2 separate regions of the Homo sapiens genome follow, and region 2 is linked to region 1. Evidence: promoter capture Hi-C in 16 types of primary human blood cells and fetal thymus (Javierre and others, 2016). All regions are on one chromosome and are shown on one strand. Each heading gives the region's core, a stretch centred on a gene start or on the middle of the fragment in contact. The rest is flanking DNA. Distances are from core to core; before and after follow the strand shown. Region 1 holds the start of ACRBP (acrosin binding protein). Region 2 overlaps LOC124902869 (a long non-coding RNA gene).

What was found. Contacts are between HindIII fragments. The CHiCAGO score rates a contact against its expected background, and 5 or more counts as called.
Region 2: a fragment that was not itself captured here is called in contact with the fragment with the promoter of ACRBP in region 1 in 1 of 17 cell types (non-activated CD4 T cells); the score reaches 5.4 in non-activated CD4 T cells.

Annotation. Positions count from the first base shown.
Region 1 is chr12:6,645,826-6,650,330 of GRCh38, forward strand. It overlaps ACRBP (acrosin binding protein), which reads right to left and starts at 1,607. Exons shown (of 10, transcript NM_032489.3): 1 at 1,499-1,607; 2 at 969-1,187; 3 at 658-752. The coding sequence starts at 1,541. It overlaps ING4 (inhibitor of growth family member 4), which reads right to left. Exons shown (of 8, transcript NM_016162.4): 8 at 4,476-4,505. RefSeq lists enhancers at 1,028-1,541, 1,465-1,534. The HindIII fragment of the contact is 16,958 bases long and covers 1-4,505 here.
Region 2 is chr12:7,165,080-7,169,398 of GRCh38, forward strand. LOC124902869 (a long non-coding RNA gene) reads right to left here. Exons shown (of 2, transcript XR_007063196.1): 2 at 1,595-1,710. Among named protein-coding and RNA genes, the nearest start is that of PEX5, 22 kb to the right of the region's middle. The HindIII fragment of the contact is 598 bases long and covers 2,253-2,850 here.

The DNA of each region.
Region 1 (4,505 bases), core at 357-2,856:
AATTTTTTGTATTTTTAGTAGAGACAGAGTTTCACCGTGTTAGCCAGGATGGTCTCGATCTCCTGACCTCATGATCTGCCTGCCTCGGCCTCCCAAAGTGCTGGGATTACAGGCGTGAGCCACCGCACTCGTCCCTGTTGTTGTTTTTTTTTGAGACACAGTCTTGCTCTGCCACTCAGGATAGGGTGCAGTGGCATGATCTCGGCTTACTGCAACCTTTGCCTCCCGGGTTCAAGCAATTCTCCTGCCTCAGCCTCCCGAGTAGCTGGGATTACAGGCGCCCATCACCAAGCCCGGCTATTTTTTTTTTTTTTTTTTGTATTTTTAGTAGAAACGGGGTTTCACCATGTTGGCCAGGCTGGTCTCGAACTCCTGACTTCAGGTGATCTGCCCATCTCGGGCTCCCAAAGTGCTGAGATTACAGGCATGAGCCACCATGCCCAGTCTCTTCTCTACTTTTCTTGCAGTAACAGAATTGTTCAATCTGAATATCCAAGGTGAGACTGTATTCATATATAATCTGGGTAAATGACTGGCAAAATGGCAGGGAAGGAGGAGCTAAGGATGACTCTCCTGGAACCCTTCCTCAACTCCCCACTGCTGCCGCCTCTCCCTTGGCCCTGGGGCACCAAATCCAACCTTTGTCCTGGGCCTCACCTTGGCATAGTAGACGTGGTTGGAGCAACGGTAGTGAGTGAACTGGCAGAAAGACTCAAACCAGGAGGCATAAGGGAGGTTGGAGCAGACAGCACCTGAGAAAGGGCAGGGGTGGAGAAGATGAACCCGTGGGGAGCTTGGGGTGGGGCTGTGGGCAATGGACTCCACGCCATGGGGAGGGTGGAGAGTACGAGCTCATGGTGTGGTGCCAGCCATGCCCTTCCCCGCCTCACATGAGCACAGGGGTTTTTGCCCTGAGGTTTGGGTGAACACTCTGGGTGCCTCGGTTTCCCCCCTAGTCTGGCCCTCACCATCGGGCACTAAGCCGTGGTTTTCATATTGGTCCAGCTGGACGAGTGTGGGATTCCGGCAGCCGTGGGTTGCACGGAGACGGCAGGTAGTCTCTGCCTTCCAGGTTGGAGTCAGCAGTGCGAAGAAGCGTTCGTATTCGGTAGGAGAGAGAGGGCTGCCTGGAGTGGAGGCCTGAGTCGAATCCTGGGCTGCGGCAGGTGCCAGAGGCAGGAGCAGCACTGCGGAGCGGGCGAACGGATGATGGAAGGACCGAACCCCAAAACCCGCTCCGAGACCAGGACAGACAGACCCAGACTGGCAAATTAGGAACGGGGTGAGGGTTATCCCTGCTGACCAGGGCGGGGGGAGTCTAGAGACAGAGGCAAAGGTCCGGCCGCGGGCGGGGGGAGATGGGAGTATCCCAGGACCTAGGGAGCCGACCCAGCGCGACCACCATGAGGAAGCGATCCAGAAACCGTAAAAGCAGAGCTCTCGGGAGGGAGAGGACTAGCCCGGGGAGAGTCTGTTGGAGCAGGTGTAAACCTCTCACCCTTCAGGAGTGAGGGAAGGAAGCCAGCGGCTGGCTTCCTCATGGCCGGAGAAGATCCGCCCGCGTCCCGTGGACACAAGCCGCCTCTAACGGGCCAAGCCGCAGAGAGAGCCGCAGGCGCGGGGCGGGGCGCACGCGGGCACCGCCCACGCGTCACAAAGAGCGGGCCGGGGCGGGGCCTCGACAGCCGGGCTCTCAGGGCCCTAAAGTGGCCAGAGCCCATCCAGATGGTAGGAATGGCAAACAGCTACCTTCACTTAGCGTCTTTTTCTTTTTTTTTTGAGACGGAGTCCTACTCTGTCGCCCAGGCTGGAGTGCAGTGGTGCGATCTCGGCTCACTACAACCTCGGCGTCCCAGGTTCAAGTGATTCTCCTGCCTCAGCCTCCCGAGTAGCTGGGACTATAGGTGCACGCCACCACGCCCAGCTAATTTTTGTATTTTTAGTAGAGATGGTATTTCACCATGCTGGCCAGATGGTCTCGATCTCTTGACCTTGTGATCCGCCCACCTCGGCCTCCCAAAGTGCTGGGATTACAGGCGTGAGCCACCATGCCCGGCCTAATTTTTGTATTTTTAGTAGAGACTGGGTTTCACCATGTTGGCCAGGCTGGTCTTGAACTCCTGACTTCAAATGATCTGCCCACCTCGGCCTCCCAAAGTGCTGGGATTACAGGTGTGAGCCACCGTAGCCAGCCACTTAGCATCTTTACATGCACTACCTTACGTAATTGCCATAGGAATCCCATAAGGTAGATACACTATCATTCGTTTTACAGATGAGAAATCGGGGCTTAGGGAAGCAACTCGCCCAACAAACAGGTCGTGAGGTCTAGAGCTAAGCGCAGGCAGAGATAGAATGTGCAAAACCAAGTCAAGGCCTATCTGGGTAGGAACTAGACAGGGCGCCTCCATGAGCAAAATGGGTCCAAGGGGAAAACAAGAGGGTGGCTCAGTGGTCTACGAAAGTGGTTTCCAAGGGAGAATCGAGTAAGACAGTCCACTGAGGTATGGGAGGAGAACTTTTGCTTTTGTATCTGTTTTGTGTTTAAAATGAGAAATTCCAGCCTGGGCAACAGGGCGAAACCTCGTCTCTACAAAAAGTACAAAAAATTAGCCAAGCGTGGTGGCACGTGCCTGTAGTCCCAGTTTCTTGGGGGGCTGAGATGGGAGGATCGCTTGAGCCCATGAGGCCAAGGCTGCAGTGAGGTGCAATCGGGCCACTGCTCTCCAGCCTGGGTGACAAAGTGAGACCCTGTCCCCACCCAAAAGCAAAAGTAAAAAAGAAAAATAAAACAAGAAATTGTCTTGGGCCAGACTTGGTGGCTCACGCCTGTAATCCCAGCATTTGGGAAGTCAAGGCGGGTGGATTCCTTGAGCCCAGGAGTTCCAGACCAGCCTGGGCAACATGGCGAAACCCTGTCTCTACAAAAAATACAAAAATTGTCAGGTGTGGTGGTGTGCGCCTGTTGTCCCACTTACTACTTGGGGAGGCTGAGGTAGGAGGATCACCTGAGTCTTCAGAGGTCAAGGCTGCAGTGAGCTGAGATCTCACCACTGTGCTCCAGCCTGGGTGACAAAGTGAGACCCTGTCTCAAAAATAAAATAAAATAAAATAAATTAATAAAATAGAGACCAGGCACTGTGGCTCATTCCTGGAATTCCAGCACTTTGGGAGGCCAAGGAGGGTGGATCTCTTGAGGCCAGGAGTTTGAGACCAGCCTGGCCAAAATGGTGAAACTTGGCCGGTGCGATGGCTCATGCCTGTAATCCTAGCACTTTGGGAGACCAAGGCAGGCAGATCACGAGGTCAGGAGATCAAGACCATCCTAGCTAACACGGTGAAACCCTGTCTCTACTAAAAATACAAAAAATTAGCCAGGCGTGGTGGCATGTGCCTGTAGTCCCAGCTACTCGGGAGGCTGAGGCAGGAGAATTGCTTGAACTCGGGAGATGGAGGTTGCAGTGAGCCGAAATCACGCCACTGCACTCCAGCCTGCATGACAGAGTGAGACTCCATCTCAAAAAAAAAAAAAGGGTGAAACCCAGTCTCTACTAAAAATACAAAAATTATGGCTGGTCTCAGCACAGTGCAATCTCTGCCTCCTGGGTTCAAGTGATTCTCCTGCCTCAACCTCCCAAGTAGCTAGGATTATAGGCACATGCCACCACATCTGGCTAATTTTTGTATTTTTAGTAGAGATGGGGTTTTAACATGTTGGCCAGACTGGCCTCGAACTCCGGACCTCAGGTGATCCACCCACCTCAACCTCCCAGAGTGCTGGGATTACAGGTGTGAGCCACCGCACCCAGCCTATTTATTTTTTTGAGACGGAGTCTCACTCTATCGCCCAGGCTGGAGTGCAGTGGTACAATCTCAGCTCACTGCAACCTCTGCCTCCCAGGTTCAAGCGATTCTCCTGCCTCACCCTCTCGAGTAGCTGGGATTACAGGCACCCATGACCACGCCCAGCTAATTTTTGTATTTTTGGCCGAGACCGGGTTTCGCCATGTTGGCCAGGCTAGTCTTGAACTCCTGACCTCAGGTGATCCACCTCCCTTGGCCTCCCAAAGTGTTGGGATTACAGGCGTGAGCTACCGGGCCTGGCCTACTTTAAAAAAAATTTTAAAAAATGAAAAAAAGAAATCAGCTTGGGTGCTGTGGCTCACGCCTGTAATCCCAGCACTTTGGGAGGCCAAGGCAGGCAGATCATGAGGTCAAGAGATGGAGACCATCCTGGCCAACACGGTGAAACCCTGTCTCTACTAAAAATACAAAATTAGCTGGGCGTGGTAGCATGTGCCTGTAGTCCCAGCTACTTGTAAGACTGAGGCAGGAGAATCACTTGAACCCGGAGGCGGAGACTGCAGTGAGCCAAGATCACGCCACTGCACTCCAGCCTGGCAACAGAGTGAGACTTCGCCTCAAAGGAAAAAAAAAAAGAAGTCAAGCTAATGTATAGTATAGCAGTACGTATGTATAGCACAAATACATCATTTATTGGAAAT
Region 2 (4,319 bases), core at 1,302-3,801, 520 kb after region 1:
GTGGGCCATGCCTGGTCTTATTGTCACTGGGAGCTGTACCATGAGATGAGACAGTAAAATGTGGAGGTGTCTTGAGCTCAGATCATGAGGCTTGTCCACAAGCTCTGAGGAGTTACTTCCAACCATCTCAAGGTAGGTGTTGAATTGTAATCTTTATCATCCTTTGGTTACCTATACAATCCTTGGCCATGAAGTTGAATTTTGGAGACCTAGACTGTGGCTTTACTCACTAAGTATATTATATTTTTCCCAATGTAGATATCAAAAGGAGGAAGAATCCCTTATTATATACCATTTTCTTGTTAGGATGTAGAGATAACTGAACTTACTGCAAACCCAAAGGCTCAAGAAGGCAATTACAATGCCTATGTTTAAAACATTCTAAGAATCAGATTTGCTCAAGGAATCAAGGAAGAACTAGTTAAAGACAACGGCAGCAGCAACAACAAAACAACGTAGAATTTTGTCTTTCTTCTGGAACGGGTGCAGTGGAAATAAATAAAAACAAAAGAAAAAAAAGGCTGATTAAGATGGGGGAAGAGGGAAATTTCATTGGGAGAAAGGCTTATGGTCTTTGAAGACAAGCTAGACAATGTTAAAGAAGTATGAGGACTTAGAGGCCAGGCCAGATGGGTATGTAAGTGAAAAGGTGTATGTGGGTCTGATGACCCTCAATTAGAGGATTAGACAAGGCCATTGACAGGGCTATAGAGTCTGGTGAGACAAGAAAAATGCAAAACAAAATGCAGAACTTATTAAGCGAGGAAAACTTGCTAAGGATCCAGGTATGGGTGCAGTACTGTTCCATCTACCTAAGATGGGAGAAGGCACAATGCAGAAGATGCCCTGCTGATGTGAGCTGTGAAACAGTCCAGCCAAAAGCCTGGCCTGTGGTCAGCAGAGGTAAATCTACCAGGAGAATGCTCATGAGGTCACTGGTGAGAATTACCTTGGCAGAAAGTAGCTCTCTTGTCCTGCTCTTCAATCTGACAAGTCACTGTTTTATAGCACTGTCTTAGTCAATTGGGCTGCTGTAACAGAATACCATAGCCTGGGTGGCTTAAACCAGGGATCCCCAACCCCTGGATCACTGATTGGTACCAGTCCGTGGTCTGTTAGAAACTGCGCTGCCACAGAAGGAGGTGAGTGGTAGGCAAGCAAGTGAAGCTTCTTTTGTATTTATAGCTGCTCCCCATTGCTGGCATTACTGCCTAAGCTTTGCCTCCTGTCGGAGCAGTGGCAGCATTAGATTCTCATAGGAGCACAAACCCTGTCGTGAACTGTGCATGTGAGGGATCTAGGTTGTGTGCTCCTTGTGAGAATCTAATGCCTGATGACCTGTCAATGTCTCCCATCATCCCCAGATAGGATGTCTAGTTGTAGGAAAACAAGTTCAGGGCTCCCAGTGATTCTACATTATGGTGAGTTGTACAATTATTTTACTATGTATTGCAGTGTAATAATAATAGAAATAAAGTGCACAATAAATGTAATGTGCTTGAATCATCCTGAAACCATTCCACCCTCCAGTCTCTGGAAAAATTGTCCTCCATGAAACTGATCCCTGGTGCCAAAAAGGTTGGTGACCACTGGCTTAAAATACATACATTTATTCCTCACAATTCTGTTGGCTGGGAAGTTCAAGATCCAGGTGTCAGCAGATTTGGTTCCTGGTGAGGGCTCTCTTCCTAGTTGGTAGACATCTATCTTCTTGCACATGGTGGAGAGCAGAGAGAGTGAGGATGAGCACTCATATCTCTTTTTATAAGGAAAGACACTAATTGCATTAACGGGAGCTCTACCTTCATGACCTAATTACCTCCCAAAGGCTCCACCTTCTAATATTATTGCAGTTTTTGCCATTTTTTAAAATGGCAAAACCACAGTTACTTTTGCACCAACCTAATGCCATCACGTTGGGGATTAGGATTTCAACATATAAATTTTTTAGGAGGAGGGGACACAAACATTCATTCCATAATAGGTACTAAGTTTTTGACCTAATAACCACAATCTTCCTGAGAAGGTCAAACTGCTTTGCTTAGTGGGGTAAATGACTCTACAACTCTGACAAGGTGTGAAACTTAGTATAGAGTCAGTGAGGTAAATTATAATATTGTGAAGTCAAGTTTAAGATAAATTTAAAAATCTGTATGAATTTAAGTTAAACCTGAATTTAAATTGTGTTTTCAACTTGAAATATGTGATTTTAGACTGATGAGTTTCAGTTGAAAGGTATAAGATGCTGCTTAAGCTTATAAGCAGTATTAGAACATTTAGGACACATCAAACATCTGAACATGGCAAATCAAGTAATTAGATTTACAGGAGTTGCTGAAGTGGTGAGAAAGATTTTGCATATAAGGATTCTAAGTCTACCTTGTCAGGCAATGAAAAGCATGAGGAAAAGAAACTCAATATATTAAGCATGTGAATATGGTTTATATCAGTTATGAAAAATGTGCTAACTTTGTAAATAGGACTCATTGCTAAGAAAATGTAAATCTGTTTGAGTTAAACATCAATCAAAGAACAAGTGGAAGTGATTTTTTCAAAAACAACACTTAGTACATTTATAGACAGAATTTCAAGATTTGTAATTCGAATTTAAAGGCTTATGCAAAATCAGATTTTATAATTATAATTTTAATAAACATTGATTAAAAACCCAGATACCTGGAAATAGTCTTTCTCACACACATTAGACATTTAAAATATTCACAGTGATGGTTGTGTGTGTGTGTGTGAAACTTGTATCAGTAATTAGATCAGAAAGAATGATGCACTCCAAAGAAATCTAAGAGATGGAGAAGAGATGGCCCAAAAAGGACTGGAGACACAAATTTGAGAAGCTTAAAAAAAAAACACAACGGGTTATAGTATTGAAAGCAAAATTTCCCATAATTTAGCAAACCAGTACCTCAAGAAAGTTTGATTTTAACATGTAGACCATTTTTTAGAAGTCTATTTTATTTATTTTTAATTTTTAATTTTTTTTTGAGACAGAGGAGTCTCCCTCTGTCACCCAGGTAGCAGTGCAGTGGCGTGATCTCATCAGCTCACTGCAACCTCTGCCTCTGGGGTTCACGTGATTCTCCTGCCTCAGCCACCCAAGTAGCTGGGATTACAGGTGCCTGCCACCATGTCCAGCTAATTTTTGTATTTTTAGTAGAGATGGGTTTTCACCATGTTGGCCAGGCTAGTCTTTAACCCCTGACCTCAGGTGATCCACCCACCTTGGCCTCCCAAAGTAGAAAGTCTATTTTAAACAATTTTAATTACAGCTAGCTTAATCATACACAGAATTCCTTTCATAAATTCCCCTTCATGAACCTTATCATGACTTACAAAGACCATTTACAACATGCTTGGACTTTTTGACTTGTCTTTACTATCTCTTTCTTAAATAACCAGCCATTTTATTTTCAGTTCTTAAATGTGTGTTTTGCCTGCAGTGCTTTTTGCTTTGACTTTTTGTTAACTGTATTTGGGCAATTGTTTAAAGCAGGTCACTTGGTTGTGAGAGCCCTCCCATTGTGTTGACTCTGGGACGCTGGAGTCATATTGTTCTGTGGCTCCCACCAGGCCTTTGGGATTCACTGTTGGCTTTTCCCTAGATGCTCTGAAGTTATTGGCATTGGTTAGCTCCCAGGTACTCTGGAATTTCTGGCATTTGGTGTAGGGACCCTCACTGGCTGATACTCTGGTACTCTGGATTTTTGGCATTTGGTTTTGTTGGCCACACTCTGAATGCTCTAGGGCTTTCAGCATTGGTGTTCCCTCTAGGATTGTGGGTTGAAGGCACACCCTAGGGGGAATCTTGGTCTTGCCTTTTCTTGTTTCCTGACCTAAAGTTATCATTTTCCATAACAGCATTTTCTTTTCTTATTGTCACTTTATTTGCACTTTTCCTTTTACATTTTGCTTTAAAAAATACTCCTTTTGTCATAGTTCATTCACTGGCAAATCCTTATAACCCACTTTCATAACGCCTTGCTACTTATACTTACACCTTCTCAGCAGGAAGTGAGAATCTAAAAGGAAAACATAGTAAAAGCCCAGTTCCTTTTCCTTTCACTAGACTTAGAAAAACTATGTCCGGTAGAAACATGGGACATGGGACAATGACAGGTATCCCAGAGGACTTGCCACTTGGGTTGTCTTTTAGGCTATTAGAGCAAATTCAAATTTGGCCTCAAGAAAAAGCAACTCATATTCTATTGCAATACCACTTGGTTTCAATACAAATTAGAAAACCAATAGATTTGGCCTAAACATGGTTCTATATGTTATAATAATATTTTACGATTAGACTCATT